Linked DNA regions of Homo sapiens: all the other regions are linked to region 1. Evidence: promoter capture Hi-C in 16 types of primary human blood cells and fetal thymus (Javierre and others, 2016). All regions are on one chromosome and are shown on one strand. Each heading gives the region's core, a stretch centred on a gene start or on the middle of the fragment in contact. The rest is flanking DNA. Distances are from core to core; before and after follow the strand shown. Region 1 holds the start of ALDH1A3 (aldehyde dehydrogenase 1 family member A3). Region 2 has its middle 210 kb from the start of LYSMD4. Region 3 overlaps SPATA41 (spermatogenesis associated 41).

What was found. Contacts are between HindIII fragments. The CHiCAGO score rates a contact against its expected background, and 5 or more counts as called.
Region 2: a contact is called between a fragment that was not itself captured here and the fragment with the promoter of ALDH1A3 in region 1, in 4 of 17 cell types (naive CD4 T cells, total CD8 T cells, total B cells and 1 more). The highest score is 6.7, in naive CD4 T cells.
Region 3: a contact is called between a fragment that was not itself captured here and the fragment with the promoter of ALDH1A3 in region 1, in 4 of 17 cell types (total CD4 T cells, naive CD8 T cells, M0 macrophages and 1 more). The highest score is 7.2, in total CD4 T cells.

What each region holds. Positions count from the first base shown.
Region 1 is chr15:100,877,460-100,882,011 of GRCh38, forward strand. It overlaps ALDH1A3 (aldehyde dehydrogenase 1 family member A3), which reads left to right and starts at 2,372. Exons shown (of 13, transcript NM_000693.4): 1 at 2,372-2,547. The coding sequence starts at 2,449. LOC124903575 (collagen alpha-1(I) chain-like) reads right to left here and starts at 2,344. Exons shown (of 1, transcript XM_047433433.1): 1 at 1,487-2,344. The coding sequence starts at 2,344. The coding sequence ends at 1,562. RefSeq lists a silencer at 2,293-2,412 and an enhancer at 2,904-3,418. The HindIII fragment of the contact is 4,913 bases long and covers 1,099-4,552 here.
Region 2 is chr15:99,939,673-99,944,224 of GRCh38, forward strand. No RefSeq gene overlaps it. Among named protein-coding and RNA genes, the nearest start is that of LYSMD4, 210 kb to the left of the region's middle. The HindIII fragment of the contact is 200 bases long and covers 2,390-2,589 here.
Region 3 is chr15:100,344,129-100,348,680 of GRCh38, forward strand. It overlaps SPATA41 (spermatogenesis associated 41), which reads right to left. Exons shown (of 2, transcript NR_028139.1): 2 at 329-1,499. Among named protein-coding and RNA genes, the nearest start is that of SPATA41, 4.3 kb to the right of the region's middle. The HindIII fragment of the contact is 3,244 bases long and covers 1,047-4,290 here.

The DNA of each region.
Region 1 (4,552 bases), core at 1,122-3,621:
AGAGGAATGTCAGAGAAGCCCCTCCTCCCTGCACTGCACCACCCACTCTCACACAGTCTGGCCTTAGTTTCTCGACCGATGGTGATGTCTGGGGCAAGTGTCTGCACGCCTCTGTTTACTCACCCGTAAAATGGGGAGAAGCGCATTTGCCTCCACCCCTCCTGCCGATGGGAGCAGAGGTAGAGCCTGCTTGTCTGGACAAGCCCAGAGCTAGGCCCATCCTCCTGACCTGCTCTCTGGGAGCCACCTACTGTGACAAAGTCTATGGCTGAGTGCTCCAGTCTGATCTCAGGCTCCCAGGATCACGTGGGTATCAAACGGAGGAGCTGCAGGTGAGCCAGTCGGCATCTTTGCAACTGGCTCCTGAGACCAGACGCCTCGGGTCACAAGGATGTCTGAGTGTGAGGTGAGGTGGCTTTCATTCCTGACTTCATAGCCAACAAAGTGGTGACTGTCTATCTTTGACCAAACAGGCTCGACTATCTTCCCTAAAGGAGCAGAGTTCTAAGCTCAACCCCATTTGCCTCCCCCATCAATCCAGCAATTATTTAATTAACACAGTTTCCTCTATAAATTTTATTTCAGATTTTTTTTTAAAATCCTGGCAGTGACATAATTTCAACCATCAAGGACCCCCGATAAAGTCTCAGGATGGGAGTTCAGTTTGTAAAGCATCTCTAGTTGCAGCTTCCTGGGGCCTGCTGCACACACTGGCCTTGGGCCCCTGGCCTCCATCCATGCAGGAGGGGTTTGTCACTACTCCCTGACGGTCCTCTTGGGCTCAGGCACCCAAACGCTAGGGCTCAGCACCCAGCCGGGGGCCGTGGCATAGCACATCTGCCCAGATGTTTTCAGGAGATCTGAGTGGGAGCCATGGGGCCAGCCAAGAGGGCAGGGAGCCCCGGATTTGCAGAAGCAGCTGAGGAAAGAGCTGGCATTGCTCAGACTCGCCAGTGTTAGCCAGCCGATATCGGTCAAGGCTGCCCCGCTCGAGGGTCCATTATCCCCTTTCCCCGGCCTCAGCTGTGCACTCCAGGCCATAACAGCACAAGACCTTTCCACAACCCCAGGGTAAGGGTCAGATGTGGGGTTTCCAAAAGCTTCAAAACTTACCCCTCTATCCAGCTCTATCCAGAAGGACACCAGGGGACAGAGAGATGGACACGGAGGCCTCAAAACAGGAAAATAAGGAGACCCCTCCCCATTGTTGATTACTTGGGGTTACCTACAGAAAGAGATGAACTGAAGGGGCTGAGCCTATCTGAGGATTAAAGCACAGCTTTTGTCAGGAGTCCGTGCCTCCGGTCTTTGTTCCAGCGACCTGAGGAATGGCATGCATCAGAAGCCGCTTCCGTGTCTCAGATGGGGCCTGGGTCAAGTCCTGGGAGTTGATGGAGCGTTTCCCAAATCGCAAAAGGAGAGGAGCTAGACTTACCTCCCCCTCCTGGGAAGTAATGCGCGACAAGAATTTAAACTCTTAAAACGATTAGCAGCAAAGGTCTCATGTGCTTTTTTTTAATTATCATTTTTTAATCGAGGTATAATTTATGCATTTAAAAAATCAGATCAATTGCCCCCCGGGCTCTGGGATGGAAGGCGGTGTGCGCCTGCGAAGGTCAGAGGCCCAGCGGCGCCAGGGCTCCTCGGCGGAGAGCCGCCCGGGTCCGGCGCTTTGCTTTCGCCTTCTGCCCCACCGCGGGCGAAGCCCCAGGGCCCCGGGGAGACTCCAGGCCGGCTGGGCCGGGGTGCGCCCGCCGGCTGTCCGCGCTCGGGCAGGGTGGGGCGCAGCGGGCGTCTGTCCTGCTAGCGGGGATCGGGCGGCTGGACCCAAGAGCAGGGCACGTGCGCAGCGACGCGGGGCGGCCCCGCCAGGAGCCCCGACCCGGGCGCGGCGCAGGGCCCGGCGGAGAGCGCGCATTCCCGAGCGCCGCGAGCCGGCCGAAGTCGGGCGAGCGCGCCGTGCGGCGGCTGGGAGTGGGCTGCATGTGCCGCGCGGGGAGCCCGCCCGACTTCGGGGAGGCAGCGGGGCGCCGTGGCCCCGCGGCTCAGCTCCCTGCCGGGTCGGGTGTCCCAGCCCTGCGACTTCCGGGGCCCGGCGGCTCCTCGGGGAGCTCGTCCACAGGCAGCCTCCGGGGCGAGAGAGCGCGCGGCGCGGGCGCCGGGACGGTCCGCGGCACGCGGGTGGAGCCGCCGGCGCTCGGGCTCCCGCAGGGGCGGCGGGCGGGGCGGGGTGAGGCGGGCCGGCCGCCCTCCCCTCTCCTCCCTCCCGCAGCCCGCCCTCCCTTCCTCCGGTCCCGCAGCCAATTAGGCGGCCCCCTCGGGCGGGAGGCGTGGGGCGCTGCATAAAGCGGCGGGGAGCTGCCACCCCGGGAGCGGGCTGCGCAGTGTCCGGGCCGAGCCGGTGCGCCGCAGACTAGGGCGCCTCGGGCCAGGGAGCGCGGAGGAGCCATGGCCACCGCTAACGGGGCCGTGGAAAACGGGCAGCCGGACAGGAAGCCGCCGGCCCTGCCGCGCCCCATCCGCAACCTGGAGGTCAAGTTCACCAAGGTGAGGCGGGCGCCCCTCCCACCCGACGGCCGCGGGCCCCTGCGCTGGGCAGCCAGACTCGGGGCGGCGGGGGCGAGGGAGCAGCGGGCCGGGGGTCCGCCGGGCGCCGCCGAGACCCGAGCCTCCCTGCCCGGGCGCGGCTCTCCAGAAACCGCACCTTTCGCGGGACGTCTCGGGCGGGATCGCAGGCGGCGGGGCTCGGCGCTGTGAGCCTCGAAGCCGGGAAACCGAGGCCGTCCAGCGCCCGCGCGGGGCCGGGCCGCCCGCATCCCTGCGAGGCCCCGACGTGTCCCTGCGCTGCCCGCTTTGATCGCGAGTGGAGGTGCGCGCCGCGTTGACTCGGAGCGCGCTGGTTTTGGGGAGCTCCCTCCCCAAAAACCCCTGCGATGATTTCCAGGGTGGACGAGTCTGGCTTTGAGAGGGTCGGAGGGTCCGAGAGCGCCAAGAGAGAGTCCGGGAGGCAGATGGCGGAGCTGCAGTTGGAAGACTGGGGAAGCGGGTCCTCCGAGCAAAGCGCAGCGGGCGCCTTCCGTGCTTAGTTTATACCCGGCTCAGCAGCAGAACGAGGAGGAGTAGGAAGGTGCTCGCTTACTGACGAAACCTCCCCGGAGCCCAGAGGTCCCGGTGTTTACACACAAGGCGCGCGCTCCGGAAGGTCGCAGACCTGGGCCTTTGGGAAGCGGTGGGTCGCGAGGCCGCAGAAGCGCACGGTTCTCTGCCTCCTCGCTCTGTGGGCTGGGAGGCTACAGCGTTGGCAGAACGGCGAGATTACCTGCCCGGGGCAGAAAGGAATAAAAGAAGATGGTGAGGCCTCCGAGGCCTCTGAGCTGGGGCTGAGGAGGGCCGAGAGACCCGGGTCCGGGAGCGCGACCCGATGGAGGACACCCCCAGGCTGTCTGGCGTGCGCGTCTGTCGTGGGCCGGTGCTGGGGCACTTTAGAGGCACAGGCCAGGCCGAGAGCCATTGCCTTAACTTTCCCCACCTTTGGCTTCTCTTGATTTTTGCTTTTACCCATAGCCCCCAACTCCAGCTGACACCGCACTTAGAGAATTTCCTCATCCGTTTTACTTTAAGAAGTAGCAATTATCTTTCTCAAAGAATTTTAATCAAGCGGAGAAAGTTGCAGGGCACTATGTGTGGCCTTCAGATTTGGGTCTCTTGGCACTTAATTCCCAATGTCGGCTGAGCCTCTGATCACAAGACATTTAAATTAACTGTTTTCAGAAGGCTCTGTAATCAACAAAGACACGTCGCTGTAAACTAAACGCTGGAAATTATTCTTAATGTAGTTTTATTTGTAATATCAGCTTCAGAGTGAAAATTCCAACACGAATTCTGGGAAGAGTGAAAATGGTACCCGAATTTTGTAAGACCCTAACCCCAGGTGCTTGGCTGCTGCTACTGATGGTTAAGTGGGGAGGTTGTTTGTTTTCTTTTGGTTGTACAGGATTTCAAAATACTGTATATAGAAACCAGACAGTAAATGTATTATGGTCCTTTTACTTTTTATGTTTTTGAGTCCTATCAGCAATCTGACCACATACAAAAAGTTTACCTCTTTCTCTATGATTTTTAGGACACTTTTAAAGTGTAGATGTAGCCCTTATGGAGACCTTAGACAATTCACAGAGCAATGGTTGCCTGTTGTCTTGGTGGGTGCGCAACCTTTGCCAGTTAAAGGGAACCAGTGCAGGAATGAGGCTGAGGGAAGCTGGTGGATCGGCCTGGAGTGCTGGGATCTTGAGTGGTCTCCCAGGCGATAAAGGCCCCAACTGCCTGACACCGGCTGCTGGCTCCTCACCCGTTGGGGGACTGTGCTGCTGCCTGCTCTGTCCTGGCTCCTGGCCCATCTCTGCAGAGACCTCCCCATAGCAGTTGTGGACCCAGGCAGCTTGTGTGGCTGAGGGTGGCCAACCAGTGCCCTGGCACAGTCCTCAGGGAGACTGGACTGGAGAGGCGGCCGAGAGTGAGGCCACCAAGAGTGCCTGCCGAGGGAAGGAGCGGG
Region 2 (4,552 bases), core at 1,240-3,739, 940 kb before region 1:
ATCAGTTGATATGATCATGTGGTTTTTGTCTTTCAGTCTGTTAATGTGATGTATAACACTGATTGGTTTGCATAAGTTAAAACAGCCTTGCATGACACTTGATCATGATGTGCAATATTTTTGATGTGTTATTGAACTCAATTTGCTCCTCAAATTTTATTGTGGATTTTCACATCAATGTTTATCAGAGATATTGGCTTGTAGTTTTCTTTTCTTGTGGTGTCTTAGTCTGGCTTAGGTATCAAGGTGATGTTGGTCTTATACAATGTGTTAGGGAGTATTTCTCCCAGTTCTATTTTTTGGAAGTGTTAAGGAAGCGTTGATATTAATTCTTTGAAAGTTTGGTAGAATTCATCTGTAAAGCCATTTGGTCCTGGGCTTTTCTTTGTTGGGAGATTTTAAATTACCACTTCAATCTCTGCTGTAATAGCTCCAATTTCATTTCTTATTTTATGTATTTGAGTCTATTCACCTTTTTACTTAGTCTAGCTAAGGGCTTTTTTTTTTTTTTTCAAAAAACCAACTCCTATTATTATTATTATTATTATTATTATTATTATTATTATTATTATTTTGAGGGGGAGTCTCACTCTGTTGCCCAGGCTGGAGTGCAGTGGTGCGATCTTTTTTTACTGCAACCTCCACCTTCTGGGTTCAAGCAATCCTGCTGACTCAGGCTCCCAAGTAACTGGGACTACAGGCATATGCCACTACACCCAGCTAATTTTTGTACTTGTAGTAGAGACGGGGTTTCACCACGTTGGCCAGACTGATCTCGAACTCCTGACCTCAAGTGATCCACCCTCCTAGGTCTCCCAGAGTGCTGGGATTATGGGCATGAGCCACTGTGCCCAGCCTACTCTTATTATTGAATTTTTCCCTATGGTTTTTCTGTTCTCTATTTGGCTTATTTCTGCTCAGATTATTATTTCCTGCCTTCTGCTAACTTTGGGTTTAATCTGTTCTTTCTCTAGTTCCTTGGGGCATAATATTAGGCTAAATGTTTAGTGTTTAGTTGGAATCTTTCTTCTCTCTCTTTTTTTTTTTTAATGAATTCTCTCACTCTGTCACCCAGGCTGGAGTGTAGTGGCGTGATCTTGGCTCACTGCAACCTCTGCCTCCTGGGTTCAAGTGATTCTCCTGCCTCAGCCTTCTGAGTAGCTGGGATTGCAGATGTGCAGCACCACACCCTGCTAATTTTTGCATTTTTAGTAGGTGCATTTTTCTTGTGGCAGTTCTTGACTTGAAGTCTATTTTATCTGCTGTGATTATAGCTGCACTGCTTTCTTTTGGTTATCATTTGCATGAAATATCTTTTAACCCTTCATTTTCAGTCAGTTTGTCCCTAAGGCTAGTGTGGGTCTCTTGTAGGCAGCATATCCTTAACCTTATTATTAAAAAAAAATCCATTTAGCCACTCTGTCTTTTGATTAAAGAATTTAATCCACTTACTACATTCAAAGTAATTATTGATGGGTAAGGACTTACTACTGCCACTTTTTTGTTTTCTGGTTGTTTTGTAGATCCTTTGTTCCTTTCTCTCTTGTTCATCTTTGATTTGATGAGTTTCTGTAGCACTATTATTATTTCTTTCTCTTTACTTTGTGTATCTGCTATACTTTTTTTTTCTTTGTGGTTACCATAAGGCTTACGTAAAACTATAGACTATTTCATACTGAAAACACCTTAATTTCAGTCACATACAAAAACATTAGACTTTTACCCTCCCTCATTTATATTTCTGATGTTGCAGTTTACATCATTTTATATTATGTATCTCTTAATATAGCTTTTTTTTCTTTGACTATTTTGGTCTTTAACCTTTATACTATCTGTATCTATATATACTTTATAGAACTATATATAACAATATTAGAATATTCTAGAGTTGACTATATATTTACCTTTACCAGTGAATTTTATACTTTCATATGTTTCCATGTTAGTTATTAGTGTCCTTTTATTTCCACTTAAAGAACTCCCTTAGACATCTCTTGTAAGGAAGGTCTAGTGGTAATAAATTCCTTCAACTTTTGTTTGTCTGGGAAAGATTATTTCTCATTTATTTCTGAAGGACAGCTTTGCTGAGTATAGCAGTATAGTTAGCAGTTTCTTTTCAGCACTTCGAATATGTCATTCCATTCTCTCCTGCCCTACAAGGTGTGTGCTGAGAAATGCACTGATGGTCTAATTGGCATTCCCTTATGTGACTTGACATTTTTCTGCTACTGCTTTTAAAATGTTGTCATTGACTTTTGATAGTTTAATTATAATGTGTCTTAGAGTGGACTTCTTTGGGTTGAATCTATTTGGGAAAAGTTGAGCTTTGTGTATCTGAATATCCATGTATCTTCCAAGGCTTATGAAGTTTTCAGCAATTTATTATATAAGCTTTCTTTCTCTATCTTTGTCTCTTCTCCTTCTGGAACTTTCATAATGCAAATATTTGTTCTTTTAATGGCATCCCACAGGTCCTATAAGCTGTCTTCACTCTTTTTCATTCTTTGTTTTCCCTCCTCTGACTAATTTTAAAAGACTCATCTTCAAGTTCAAAGATTCGTTCTTCTCCTTGATCTAGTTTGCTGTTTAAGCTTTCTATTGTATGTTTTATTTTGTTAACTAAATTTTTTAGCTCCAAGGTTTGATTAAATTTTTATGATATCTCTTTTGTTGAATTTCTCATTCAGATAATGAACTGTTTTCCTAATTTCATTGAATTGTCTATCTGTATTCTCTTATATCTGAGTTTTCTTAAGGTCACTATTTTGAATTCCTTTTTAGGCAATTTGTAAACTTCCCTTTCTGGGGAGGGGGGAAGGTCAGTTGCCTGAGAATTATTATGTTCCTTTGGTGGTATCATGTTTCCTGGCTTTTTCTTCTTCCTTTTTTTGGGGGAGGAGGGGAGTGGGGCAGTGTCCCATTGTCACCCAGGCTAGAGTGCAGTGCATGATCATGGCTCACTGCAGCCTTAACCTCTCAGGCTCAAGCAATCCTCCCACCTCAGCTTTCTGAGTGGCTGTGATCTCAGGCATGTGCCACCATGCCTGAGTAATTTTTTTATTTTACATTTTTTTTGTAGAGATAGGGTCTTCCTATGTTACCCAGAGTGGGTAACATAGGAAGTTATGGGGAACATATTCAAACTCCTGGGCTCAAGTAATCCTCCTGCCTCAGCCTCTCAATGTGTTTGTTGGGATTACAGGCATGAGCCACCATGTCTGGCCTTTTCTGGCTTTTTCATGTTTCTTGTGTTCCTGCATTGATGTCTGCACATCTGATGGAATGATTACCTTTTCCAAACTTTACAGAGTGGTTTTTGCAGGGAAAGTCTTAGTATACCAGTTGGGAAGAATATGGTGGTTCTACTCTGCATCTGAGTAGACACAGTAGTATAACCTCCATGCAGCTGCTTCAGCTACGATCAACATCAGCAATGACTGGGTGCCTCAGTAGCCTAGGCTATAGCAATATGTGGCAGCAGCAGTGGCAGTGTAGGTTGTTAGGATCCCAGGTGGCAACAGCTTTTGGGGTCCTCCTGTTTTTCTTTTCCCCACAATGAGAAGACTAGCTGAGAGGACCCCTTTTGATGTTCTGACACAGCCCACGAGCAGCTGCAGCAGCGTGGGGTTCCAGGTCACAGGTGACAAGAGCAAATGTGGAGCTTGGGCCCTGGACTCAGGGTCTTGAGAACGAACTGTGGCACCTGGGTCTTGGGGTACAGGTTCAATCTCTGAAGGAAGGGTTGCATGCAGACTGCCCACAGAGCCAGAGTCTATAATCTGAGGCAACTCCCAGCAGCTTGAACCCAGGCGGCCGGGTTGTAGCTGTGACTCCGACTCTAGGGGTTAGGGAATAGCACTGGCCTAGCTTCATAGAAGAAGGGGAGCTCTGGAGGTGTGAGCCTGGGCATCAGGGGTACAGCTGCAATTCAGGAACCAGAGCCAATAGGGTACAATGGCAACTCAGGCGTAGGGGGGATGAAACACCATGTAGTCATGACTCTGGACCCTGGGATGGTGGGAAATGGGAGGCTCGGTAAGGCAAGGTGAGGCTGCAACAAGGATCTCAGATTAGCAGAGTTCAGCTTTCACTTGGGTCCACAGCGCCAGTTGGGGAGGGGGAGGCAGGGAGAAGTACGACAATGGCACTATTCCTTGTGAGTGAAATGTCTCAGCAGCTCAGACTCTAGGGGTGAGTCCAGTTCCAGAGAAGCAAGGTACTACAGTTATTTGCCCAGTAGGATGGGGTGTCGCAGCTTAGCCACTGCCCTATTTCCCTGGGACACAGGGGACCATGTCAGTTCATCCCTGGGATGTGCCACTGCTTAGCTTGGCCAAGGCATTAATTACACCGGAGGTGATGCACCATTTCAGCTGAGGCCTGGGGAGTGTGGCTGCTCTGGGCAGTCAGGGCACCATTTGCTGGAATGCAGGGTGCCACTTCAGTTCTGGCCTGGAGAGTATGGATGCTCTAGACAGCCAATGTAGCATTTCCCCAGGATGCAGTGTGCCACTTCAGCTCAGGCCTGGAGGGGCAGGGCACAGTAGCAACT
Region 3 (4,552 bases), core at 1,419-3,918, 530 kb before region 1:
CTGGTTAATTACTCCAGAGAAACTCTGGCACATGTACAAGAATGTTTGTTCACCAGGGCACCTTATTAAGAGCAAAAAATTGCAAAAACCTGAATGTTCATCGTTACATAAACGGCTACTTGAACACCATTAATTAAAGGAAATACAAAAATCTCATATATGTAACAACATGGACAGATCTCCAAGATCAGTTATCGAATTTTTTAAAAAATCAAGTTGCAGAATGAGGCACACCGAAAAAAAAATGTGTATAAACACACAGACACACATGACATGATCTGCATGGATTCAGATAAGTGTACATAAAATCCAAGAGGAAAGTCTGGAATAATACAAGCCAAACTTTGTTAAGGTTTATTGTTCTTTTTGTATTAATTGCATGCTGAGGAAAGGTACTACAAAAGGAAAATGAACACCTGGGACCCCAATTCACTCTGCCAAAGGAAAAAAATCAAGCTGAAAGCTGAGTCAAGCAATCAGCTGCCTTTTCTTCTGTTCCTAAGCAGACAGCGACAGATAAAAGGTTCAACATCTCCACAGGTAGCTGGTAGAGTAAGAGGGAGAAAGAAGAAATGGTAAAGTGACATGAAGGCAAGACGGTGTTCCGTGACTCCGTGCTGCTCCTGTCCCTGTATTGGATTCCAGCACCAGGGGCCTGTGTCTACTGCTGCACTGTTGAAGACACTGTCACGGTTATCATGGTTGATTCTGGATCTACCAAAGTAGTGCTGCCTTGACCGGGGCCCAGTTCTCATTGCCACACCAGCAACTTCCAGCACCTGTTAACATGGAATCCTTACCTCTGCCTCCTGCCATCTAATCTCCTGCCAGGGCCTCTTTTTGGCAGAAGCTAGCAAGAAGCCTAAGAAAATGTAAGGGAGTCAGAGAATGAAGGTTGCAGACTTTCAGCTTCAGTAAAGAGCAGAACATGGAAGTGGGTATGTGGGGCTGGGAGACAGAGCCGCTGAAGGTCTTAATCTGACCACCATGAGTCTGAATTCCCTTTGCCCTTCATCCTTGTATTCACCAGTCATATTAAAAGTTTAAGCTTCCATGCCTTCCACTTTCTCTTTCACAGCATTTCCTCCACAATACTGTGAACTGCCTTCCCCTACCCAAATCCAAGATCCTCCTCAGTCTTGAAACCTTCCCACTGTGCCCTTAAGAGCTGCTGCTCCATATCCTAGATCTGCTGCCTCTTCTCTGAGCGTTCTGTACTTACGAATGGAACTCCTTTGAAAATGTAAGGTGGCAACAAAATTCACATTTCTCAGCATCTTTTTTCCCCTAAGGATGGTCACTTGTCACAGTTCTGGCCACTGTGATAGAAGGAGAAGCTACTGGCTAGAGTTCTAGCAGAGTTCATTTGAGGAGCTTCCTTCTGCCGCTGTATACCCCTTTTCACTGTGTCTCTTCCTCTTTGCTCCTGACTAGAATTTGCATGTGATTCCTGGAATTCCAGCAGCCATCTCGTAAGCATGAGGAAGAGTGCCAGACCCCTGGGAAGCAAAAAGATCAATGAACTCTGGGTTGCTGATGACATCTTGGAGTCACCATGCCAGACCTGAGCTGTCTACTTCTGCACTTTTTGCTATATCAGAAAAAAAATATACTCTTGTCTCTTTTAAGCTGTTGCTATTTGGGTTGTCTGTTATATGCAGCCAAACTCGACCCCTAACAGACACACATATAGACAACTCCCATCCCCCACCCTGGGCTCTGGGCTCCTCAATTTCCTCCTTCAGTGACCTTCTGTGCTATGCTGCCCCAACTGTCCACTCTCAAATTCACACCCTACACCTTGTCATCACCCCTAGCTGTTCCACCTTCCAAAACTTGAACATCCACCTCTGACCACAGCTTCTTGTCCTCCCAGCATGCTCGTCCAAATGCTCCTACCTCAGAAGGTCTCTCAGTCTGCATCTCCCAACCCACCAGCCTCTCTTCACTTGCCTCCATATCCAGCTTGCATTCCAGGCCCCATGACTCTGAAAACACTCTTGCCAATATGCTCAGCACCCTCCCCTATCCCTTTTCACTGCAGTTGTCATGCAGAACTACAGGCCTGGGTAAACTCAACTCTCTACTCTCACTGAGCATGTGGTTGAGCTCTGAACACCACTGGAGCCAAGCATGCAACAGGGAAATCTGCAATCACCTTCTTCATTTGAGCCATCGCCATGCCCACCATTGCTACTACACTCCTCTGCCCAACTCCCCTTTCTCTCAATGCAGTGCTGATCTCGAACCCTCCCCTTCTCAGCTTCGCATTCCTCATCTTATCCCTTTCTTTTGGCAGTGGACAAGCACGCACTTCACAGAGTCATCCCCTGGTCCAGACTCTTTGCCGCGGTTTGAATGTTTATGTCCCTCCAAAATTCATGGTGAAACTTACCTCATTGTGCTGGTATTAAGAGGTGGAGCCTTTTGGGTTAAGGCCCAAAGTCATGAGGGCTCTGCCCTCATGAATGGAATTAATGCCCTCATTAAAGAGGCTCAAGAGGGCTTCTTGGCCCTTTTGCCCTGCATCTCTTCTGCCATATGAGGACACAGCATTTGTCCTCTTCAGAAGATGCAGCAACAAGGTGTCATCCTGGACACAGAGAGCTTACCAGACACTGAATCTGCCGGCACCTTGACCTTGGACTTCCCAGCCACCAGAACAATGAGAAATAAATGTCTATTATTTATAAATTACCAAGTCTAAGCTATTTTGTCATAGCAGCAGGAATGGACTAAGGCACTCCTCCTCCCAGCTCCAGACCATGTATCCAGCTGTTCAGTTGACCACTTCAAAGAGCGAGACCATGGCATGTGATCCAGTTTCAAGGATGGATGAGAATGTTTCAAATCTGCTTTTGTTTTTGTTTGACTTTGAATTAAGAAATCATCCAGTGGATGATGGAAGGATCATGGGACACTGATATCATTTGGGTACACATTGTACTTGTTTGGTTAACCCTATTTGGATAAACTGTTGTGGTCTGGATTTAGTTGCTTGCAGCCAAGGTCATCTATGATCTAATGTCTTCAGACCATTCACCAGAGTACTATTTCTCCTGCCCAAGCTCCTGATGAGGACTGGCCAGCTGAAAGCCAGGGTTAAATCCAACTCCATGCATGACCCAAGGAACAGCTACTCCCTGATGCTGAACAAGGCCAAAGCCATATACTGTGAACAAGCACAAAACAGAGCCAGGCTGGCATGTGCTTCCGCAAATTGTGAAGCCCAAACAGCTGCCTCTGCTGCAGTTGATGGTGACTTATTAGCAAAGAAAACATTTTCTTTTTGGAAAAGAGTTTTAGATTGGCTTCAATGCTTGGACAAAAAGAGGTCAGCCCTACAAGGCCCATGACACTGAGCATAGCTACAATGTATTGAAAACAGGCATCGCTGATGCCCACACAGCCCTAAAAATTGCATCTCAGTGCCCATACAATGTATAAGTTTAGGCAATTCAACTTCATGGTGAACTTTTCAAGGTTAATTGGTTGAGAAATATCAAAAAAGCATTTGTAAAAGTAATACTTTGATTTTTCAAAGAGTTGATCTTGAACCAATCTTTCAACCAGTGGTTGAATAGTGAGACCAGTACCTGCAGATGACACACCTGCTATCTAATGATGGAACCACACCATCCCCAGAAAAGAGGCCCATTATCCTGTGTTCTGGAGCAGATCCTACACATCCAAAATGGTCCTGAATAAAATGTGCGTTATACATTAGGCTGTGAGGTGGGGGATGGGGAGAGTCCAGGACACATCCCCACATCATTCTCATCACAATTATGATCTGATTTACAGAAAACAGTATCTTTGAAGTGGCATTAAAGTGAAACTTCTGGATGAGCAAAACTGGCCAGAGGTCTACATTTAACTAAGTAGCTTAATTTACAAAAATGTCTGTCCTCAGTCTAGACCAAGGAAAAAGCAATGGTAACTGCATTCATTTATGTACTCATTAGGTCCTTCAACCCTTCTTCAGTGCCTACTTTCTGTGTGCCACGTACTGAGATGCCAAATGAAGAGGCAGCAGCATATAAATTGCACTTCTTTCCCCACAGTTCTCTATAGAGCTCTGTTATGAACTAGACACTGTTCCTGGTGCTGGGGATTTAGAAACGAAAAAGTAACTTCCCTGTGTTCTATCTAGTGGGGGAAGGCAGATAGAAAGAAATAATTTTGTGGGAATGTAAAATGGTACAGTCACTGTGGAAAACAGTACGACTATTCCTCCAAAATAGATTTACCCTATGATCCAGCAATTCCGTTTCTGGATGTGTACCCCAAAGCTTTGAAAGCGGGGACTCCAACAGGTATTTGCATACTCATATTCATAGTATGCAAATTTAACTAAGTAGATGTTGTCATGGCATTTGTAAGCTGCCATGGCACTAGCGGGAGTGTCTTTTGCCATGCTAATACATTATAATTAGTGTATAATGAGCAGTGAGGACGAGCAGAGGTTGCTTTTGTCACCATCTGGTTTTGGTAGGTTTTGGCCAGCTTCTTTACCGCATCTTGTTTTATCAGCAGGGTCTTTGTGACCTGT